Linked DNA regions of Homo sapiens: all the other regions are linked to region 2. The links are contacts of gene promoters, found by promoter capture Hi-C in blood cells and fetal thymus (Javierre and others, 2016). All regions are on one chromosome and are shown on one strand. Each heading gives the region's core, a stretch centred on a gene start or on the middle of the fragment in contact. The rest is flanking DNA. Distances are from core to core; before and after follow the strand shown.

Region 1 (2,700 bases), core at 145-2,644, 310 kb after region 2:
TCTTTGTTGGGTTGTACTCTACAAGGACTTGACTGAGTCACACATCATGATCCATGCGTTTTCTTTGTTAAGATCTAGAAATAAGAGACAGACCCAACCTCATGCTGTGTCTCGGGTTCTCTGGAATGAAGGCAGTCAGCTATAGTCACCACTTTGATTCCCGCAGCCCGTCTGTTCAGTCCCTGAAGTGATGAGAAACCAAGAAGAATTCAAGAAGTCAAAGGTGTTCTAAAAATAAATGCTCTTTTGAAAGTTGTTTTGTTTGTCTGTGTTTCTTTCCTTCGCTATGTTCAAAGTCAACCAATCAACAGAGTTGCTTTAACAAGTTACAGGCAAGAGGGCTTCTCGTAGCACCTTTGCAAGCATAGTGTAGAACGCAGCAGTCTCTCCAGGGCTTGACCCTGTGACAGAGAGCCCAGGGCCCCAGGTGCCTGCAGGAGCTGACGGCCATGTGGCCTGAAGTCTTAAGGCTCGTGGAGGGCCTGCAGAGCCCCCTGGGCTTCCTGCCTCCTCCCAGCCTTGCCCGGCTCCCAGCTTTTCTCACACAGAGTCCTCTCAAAGCCATCTTCTCTGCTCCTCTTGTGTTTTACCCACAGTTCAGAACAAGAGGCTTCCTTGGTTTTTCACCCTCAGAAAGATTGTCCACATGATATTATGGATGTAAAACTATTTGGAAGCTAATATGATATCTGACCTTAGTTCTAGAGAACTAGTTGCAATTATCCTGGGCTGAGAGCATTAAAATTGGGACCTGTGCGAGCTTCTTAAGTAGTCGCTAGGGCATTTCTACCATAACCATTCCAAAACAAAGTCATTCAAAGTAAAATCCCCCCACTCCTCCTGTTATAAATTTGGCCTCACAGTTTAATGAGTAAAAGCTGCAAGCCCACAGGCCCTTGGCAGGATGTGTGGCCAAGATGTCTTGGTGCAAAGAATGTTACCGTGCACTTCGAGTGCAGAGACTGCTCTCCACAGCAGGCCCCAGGCTTGCATTCTGGCTAATGTCCATCTGAAAATTCAGATTGTGAAACTACAGCATACGAATCATTCCACAGGTATGAGGCCTGTTTTTCTTATTTGTCAATCTCATTCAAGCCTTTCTTTTCTTTGGCAACAGGAGGAAATACACTGGCCAATACCTAAGTACTAATCTTTGATTCATTTTTTAAAAATCTTGCTAATTTCATACAGAAGACAGAATAACTGAAAGAAGAAACAATTCTTTTCTCTAAAAGGCTAGATAATTTCTACCAGTGCCTTCTCCTTTCTCCCAACAGTCCCCACTCAGCCATTCCTTGTGGGCTGATGCCAGAAACAGCGTGGAAAACAAGTCTGTTTTCCAAGAGGGGCTATTACCACGAATTATGTTTAAAATGACAGCATCAAAGATTAAACCATCATTGTATATAAACTTAACATAGCTATAACCTAGGAAAAGCTAGTTTCATGGTGATAATACTAATTAGAAACAGATGTGTATTCAAAGGGGCAAGGAAAGAGGCTGGCAGGAGAGAAAAAACATTTTTCCCCCATAATGTAGTGCAAGAACCTTTACAGATATGGTCTCACCAAAGTCAGCTTTGTGCAACACCACGGATGCCAAGTGCAAGCTGTCCTGACAAGGCACATTTCACTGATGAAGCATTTAATAAATTGCAGATAACCCTTATTACAGGGTTACCCCTATTTTGTAGCTGGGGAGACAGGTGCTCAGAAGGATTCAGTGGTTTGGCAAGGGAGACAGCAAGAACACTAGGGCAGTGTGAGGTGGCTGGGAGAAGGGGCAGCCGGCAAGGTCAGGCACTTCCCACGGCAGGAGACTGGCACCGAGCAGGGGCAGGAGGGAAACAGGGACACCACCTGCTCCATGCCTGCAGAATCCTACCTCCACGGGGCAAGGCAAGGGCAAACCACCCAGCCTGGGGAGCTTTGCACACCAAGGCTCATAGAGGAAGACTGGCTAGGGAGCATTCGCCGAATGGAATCAGGTAGGGCTCTCATATCAGTAGCATTCTTGGGAACACCCTCTGACTGATCTCCAGGAACGCATGCAAATGACTGCATAACATATGCAAATGACTGCATAACAACAGGTACACATCTTGGCTGGTCGGAAACACTGCTTCTGGCCTGCTTGGTAATAAATCCTAGGTGTATGGTTACGCACATTTGTCCTCCACGCCCTGATATGCAGGTGCCTCCGGCTTCCTTGTAGCTGCACCATTATTTTCCCCTAGCTAAGCAGTTAGCAGGCAAGGCTTCTCACGCAGCTGCAAGTCAGATGTGATTAACAGTATTTCATATGGAATATATTTGTGTCTGATCCATTTGCTTGATTAAATCACACTGTAGCTTAACAGCCTATTTGTTGATAATTTTTACTTATTTGAATTCAATGTAATAGCTTTTACTAGTGAAAATATATCAGCAAACATAAAACGCTGAGAAAATGCAACACAACCTAATTCAGTGTAATCAGAAATAAAAGCAGAGCATTCTAGAGAATGCTGCTAGTCTTAGACCAGCTCTGCTTATTTAATAAGCACAGATCCTTGGAGCAAAAAAGGTAGAGTATTTCTGGCTAAGTTACTGGTTACCAACTCCACGTCATACAAAGTAAACTCATCCTGGTCCCCCATATCAAAGGAGCACTCTCCTGGCAGCTCCCTGAAGGTCCCCAAGGCCGCACACATCTCTGGT
Region 2 (2,700 bases), core at 59-2,558:
CGGGCGAGTCTGGCTGCGCCCCACGTGGGCCAGCTTGCGCACTGGTGTCCCGAAAGTGGGCGCTGGCGGCCAGAGGAGCCTGCGGTCTCCCCCGAGGGCCCCTAGGCGGAGTGGCGCGTGCAGGAAGTGAGGTGGGATCAGGCCTGGCCTGTCCCCGCAGGCCCGCTGGGCTCACAGCGTGCTCAGGTGCCGCCGTGAGTCCAGGGCCCCCGCCCGGCCCCGCGCGGCAGCCGCGGACTCCACGCCGCGCAGCCACTCCGTGCACTTGCGTACCAGGCCCTCGTCCACCGCCTCTGGCTCCTCCTCGTACTCCACGTCGTCGTACCTGTGCCGCTCGTTGAGCAGCGACACCTTGAGCATCGGCCGCAGGGCCCCGGGCCGCGGGCTGAGCTGGGGAACCTGCAGGCCGCCGTGCAGCAGCTGGGCGCCGGGCGGAGGCGCGCGGCGGCCCTGGCCGGCGGTGGGGGGTGCGTCGGGGTCGCTGGCGGGGCCGCCCCTCCGCGGGCCCGCGGCCCTAGCCGGGAGACACGGGGCGAGTAGGCGCCTGGGTTCGGCCGAGGGTGAGGGGAAGGGCCTGCGGGGCCGCGCCAGCAGCTGCTTCTCCAGATGACGCTTCTGGATGACCAGGACGGCCTCGGGGGTGAGATTCAGGCAGAAGCGCGCAGCGGAGTCTGGACAAGGCCCCGCCCCCGAGGAGGTGCCCGCGGCGGTGGTCCCCGTCCCCGCCGAGGTCGCCGCATAGGTGGTCCTCGCTGGGCTGTGGCCGGAGCCTGCCGGCCGGGGCGGGGCGCACGTGGCTGGGGCCCGCGCGCGGCTGGGCAAGGCCTGGGGGGAGACGCCCGGAGGGGCCGGCGGCTGCGTCCTGTCCAGGCCGGGGCCGCGCCGGGCCGGCGGCCTCTTGAGCGTGGCGGAGGGCCAGGAGCTGGAGAGGAGCCCCTCGGGCCGCTGTGGGGGCCTCTTCTTCTTGTCCCCCGCGGCGCAGGGCCTCCGGGGTAACTGGCGCGCGGCTTGGGCCCCCGGGGCGGGGGCGGGCGGCGGCGGCATGGGCGGGAAGGGCATAGTGCAGCCGAGCCGCCGGATCCTCAGCCCCTGGAAAGAGAGGCGGGCGCTCAGCCACTGTGCGCGGAGCGGGTCCCCGCAGTCCGGGCGGCCCCTCCACACCCACCTGCGTCCAGCCGCGGCCTCTCCGGCTTCCTCACATCCCAGCGACCAAACCCGGGGACTCAAAGAGAGGCGCTCCCACCCTCCCCTCCTCCTGGGGGTGCTCCCGGGACTGGACCCTGCAGGAACCGCCTCCCGCCGTCCGACTGTGGGCGAGTCGCGGCGCCCCCGGGTCCCCACAGCTGAGACGCGGGCCGGGCCGGCAGGAGGAGGAGCCCAGCGCGCTCGCTAAGGACGCGGCCCTGCCAGGCCCCGGGCTGTGCCCGGCTGGTGTCACGACCGACTGTTGAATGGGAGCAAAGTGCCAGGACAGCGGAGGGCGGAGCGCGCGCCAGGCATCCCGGGGCTCCCCCAGCTGGCGCTCCGGTGGTCCGAGGTTAATGTAGTCCGTCGAAAGCCAGGAGCATTCCCCTGGGGGAGCCGGCAGCCTTCCGGAGTCACAGGTGGAGGCCCTGCACGTTTCAGAGAAAATCCCCTGTAGCCTCTCCGTGCCTTCGAGACGGCGGGAAAGGCACCGCCAGTAGATGCAGCTCTGCGGCCCCGGACACATCCTGCTTCACAGAGAAAAGCGGGCTGGAGCTGAGAGGGGAGAAATGACCCTCAGTGAATCTTACATAGTGTTCATGCCACCCCTTGAGGAGTCACTTTCAAATTCAAAACCTAAGTATCTATGAACAGGCAAAATAGTTCAGTTTCAGCTATATAATGCTGATTACATGGCAAATATTAGACATCAAGTCCCTTTAATAATTCTTATGAGCAAAGCAATATATTTATCACTGTAGCAGAGATTCAGAATTAATGAGATAAATCTTCACTGTCAATTTACATTCTAGTCGTAGACACATGAAGACATCCTACAATATTCAAATGTTTGTTTAATAAATAATTGAACAATTGCAAAGTGACGGATCAAAAAGTCAACATTTCATGTGTGCAGTCCCTGCATTACTTAAGGATAATCATCAGCTGCTTAGATCTCCACAAAGTACTTTCCATCAGATACACTTTTCTGATGGAAACCAGGTGTGTGATGGTTACGGCCCCAGGTTAGCTCCAGAGCACATTCAACTGTGGGTAAACACAAATGTGCCCTGTGCCAACAGTCACAGCAGGACAGCATGGCCCTCCCCCAGCCGCCTCAGTCTCCGAGGCAGCAGCAACGCCTCCCCTTGTTGACTGTTGGTGGCCTCAGAGAACTGCGCTGTGGATACATGGGAGCGTCAAGGAAACCTGGCAGGTGGTGGGAAACACTTCTCACCAGAGCTTGGGTTGGGGTGACAGGTTTGGGCCCTGTCATCTCTACCAGCACCTCCCAAGCCACCCCAATACAGCTCTGAAACAAGCCTCCCAGCTCACAGGCACTTTCCCTCCATCCCTGCCAGCCTGTCTCTGCCGGTGGGCTCAGGCTGTTAATCGGCTTGACAGGTGAGGTCCTAAGATACTGAAACCTCCTCCTCAATATGTTTTATTCCAGGTTTTAGAATCTCTGGATGGGTGTGGGAAGAGGCACGTCAGTGGCGGCAGGAGGCCCACAGT
Region 3 (2,700 bases), core at 182-2,681, 340 kb after region 2:
CACCAAATAATATAGCTTCAAAATGTATTAATCAAAAAATGACAAAACCAAAAGGAGAAATTGACAAATCCATTATTATTTAGAAAAATTTTTGTCTCAATATATGTCTTGGGCCATTGTATATCTTGCTACTCTCATCTGGACGATGTGGTACCTGCCTTCAATTTTGTTTACCAAGATTAATACTGAATCCTCCTAAAGTTCTGACCTCCGCTGTCAGTCCTTCAAGGATGCTCTCTGTGACCCCCAGACTTAGTCAGGTGCCCTGGCAGATGCTCTTAAGATACTAGGAATTTCTTAGATGGGAATACTTACTTAGGTGTATGTGTGTGAGCATTTAATTAATGCTTTTATTAGACTGTAAACCCTGTGAGGGCAGGAATTGTGTCTCCTTGGCAAATCACTATACACAGTGCCTGTTACTGATGGCTGATCTACTTAGAACAAATATTTGCTGAATGGATAGACGAGTGAAAGCAGTCACTGAACTGGCAGCCAGATGGCCACTACTGCTTTTTTGACATGCACTTTGTGCCACAGGATGGAAGTGCAGAATGAGGATTAACTTGTGACAATTGGTTCCCTCTCTCTCTTCTCCTCTCCTTCCCTTTTCCTCTTTTTAAGCCAGTAATTAGCACATAACCTTGGGCAACTGAGGCAATAAGTCAGTAACTCTACATACTATTTTTAGATTTGCTAAGGGCATACAACATGTACTATTCAAAAACGAAAAGAAAGGGAATTATCTAGTAGGGCACAGATGTTATATTCACAATGGTACATCCTGAAGTTCAACACAGGGAAAAGCCCACATTTCTTCAAATCAATGTGCGTCCCATTTACTGTGCCTGCTCCCCCAGTCCATGACGTCACTTCTTCCAGTTATTCTTGTGATTACATGTCCTTCCGGGAACAACTGGCTGGAGATTCTGGTGACTTTTAGGAAGTTTGAGGCTCCAATCCTATCATCATTTTCCAGGAGCAACTGCTTTAGCTAAACCTCCCGGTATTCTCAGGGAAGGATCTGACTTAAGTTGCGTGAAAGTATATTGCAAATGTGTTTTGGCTTAGACGTATTTTAAATAAGGGCCCATACATATTAAAAAGTAAAGAGAGAAATTACAGCCTAGGGGTTTGTGGTGTCCATGTAGCATTAACATAATGAGTGCTGTGGCTTACTTGCATCCTGCAAAAAGCCACCTTGAAGTCCTAACCCCTAGTACCTGTGAACATGACCTCACTTGGAAATAGGGTCTTTGCAAATGAAATCAAGTTAACATGAGGTCATAATTGGATTAGGGTGGCTCTAAATCCAATATGACTGGTGTCCTTATAAGGAGAGACACATACACACAGAGGAATGCCTGGTGAAGGAGGAAACAGAGATTGGAGCGGGGCATCTCCAAACTAGGGAACACCAAGGATTGCTGGCAACACCAGAAGCTGGAAAGAGGCATGAATCAGATTCTTCCCTACAGCCTTTAGAGGGAGTGAGGCACTGCCCACCCCTGATTTTGGAGTTCTGGTCTCCAAAACTGTGGGAGGACAAGTTCCTATTATTTTAAACTGTCCAATTTGTAATGCTGTCTTATGGCAGACCTAGAAAATGAACGAAACTACTTACGCATCCTTTAAAGCTAGCTATTAAAGTTTCCTATTTGATAAAGACTTGAAAATGTAACAAGATGCATAATAGCATCTACAAGTATTCACCTTTCAATATGAAGAATGGCAAAGGGTGACCAGGCTGCCAATAAGATAAATTATGGAGCTGGAATCAGAGGCACAACGTTAGTTTTTGAATTACCAGTCGTGTGGGGGAAGCTGTTTAAGTAAAAGAACACTGAGAATGGGATCAGAACACTTGGGCTGGAGTTTCCGTTTAGCCGCTTTCTATATATTTCCCCTAAGCACTGGTACACCCTGTTCCTTCTGCCAGTCACAAACTCTCCACCTCCCCTCCTCTCTCTTCAACCTGCTCACCTCTGTCCCTCTCCTAGGCCTTGGCTAAGACTCCACTCCTGGGAGGTCTGCCCTGGTTCCTAGGCTGGGTTACAGGACCTCCTGGAGCAGCCCTGCCATGCTCACGGGAATGTGCCCCCCCTTCTCTGGATCTACCTGGAGATGGGGGCACTCCAGGAAGCCTGGCCCCAGCTCATCATAGTCCATGTTGTACCCACAGAGTTCTTGGCACATAAGAATTCATTTTTAGCTCTAAATAAGTAAAGGTATGAATTAAACAGTAGCATTAACTTTGCCATAGTTTTGCAAACTCAAAGTGTGGTTTACATGTGTCAACATTTCAACTTAACCACAGATTATTTTGCCTCCCAATGGATATTTGGCCAAGTCTGGAGAAACTTGTCAGAAGGTGAACTAAAGGATGCAAAGACAATCTGTGCGTGCCCCTCAAAGCTGCCAAAGCGGGCCTGGAGTCTGCAAGTGCTCGTTAGAACAAAACGTTTGCTTCTAGGGCCAGTCCTCTGTGCAATTAGAGTTGTAGTGGTGAGGTTGTAAATCAGAGTTGATAGCTCCTATTGTTAGGGAATTTAGCTGTAGGAATTGGGAAATTTGCCATGGTCCCTGAGCACTGAACCCATGACCCAGGGGTGGCTTGGTTTCCTTAAACTTAGTGCCCATCTCAGTTGATCAGAGGGCATCTATTTCAGTCTCTCAGATCACGTGGAATCTCTTGATCGG

Evidence for each region. The method cuts DNA at HindIII sites, captures the fragments that hold promoters and counts their contacts. A CHiCAGO score of 5 or more calls a contact.
Region 1: a fragment that was not itself captured here is called in contact with the fragment with the promoter of PRR18 in region 2 in 1 of 17 cell types (total CD8 T cells); the score reaches 5.1 in total CD8 T cells.
Region 3: a fragment that was not itself captured here is called in contact with the fragment with the promoter of PRR18 in region 2 in 1 of 17 cell types (non-activated CD4 T cells); the score reaches 5.3 in non-activated CD4 T cells.

The regions. Positions count from the first base shown.
Region 1 is chr6:166,619,120-166,621,819 of GRCh38, forward strand. All of the region lies in intron 1 of RPS6KA2 (ribosomal protein S6 kinase A2), which reads right to left. Among named protein-coding and RNA genes, the nearest start is that of RPS6KA2, 6.8 kb to the right of the region's middle. RefSeq lists enhancers at 1-167, 1,828-2,328. The HindIII fragment of the contact is 3,633 bases long and covers 1-2,700 here.
Region 2 is chr6:166,307,084-166,309,783 of GRCh38, forward strand. It overlaps PRR18 (proline rich 18), which reads right to left and starts at 1,309. Exons shown (of 1, transcript NM_175922.4): 1 at 1-1,309. The coding sequence starts at 1,059. The coding sequence ends at 172. LOC107986669 (a long non-coding RNA gene) reads left to right here and starts at 465. Exons shown (of 3, transcript XR_001744464.2): 1 at 465-640; 2 at 2,639-2,700. RefSeq lists a silencer at 792-1,391 and an enhancer at 1,462-1,741. The HindIII fragment of the contact is 8,012 bases long and covers 1-2,700 here.
Region 3 is chr6:166,643,533-166,646,232 of GRCh38, forward strand. LOC107986671 (a long non-coding RNA gene) reads left to right here. Exons shown (of 3, transcript XR_001744466.2): 2 at 2,670-2,700. It also overlaps a transcript of RPS6KA2 not described here. Among named protein-coding and RNA genes, the nearest start is that of RPS6KA2, 18 kb to the left of the region's middle. The HindIII fragment of the contact is 2,883 bases long and covers 1-2,700 here.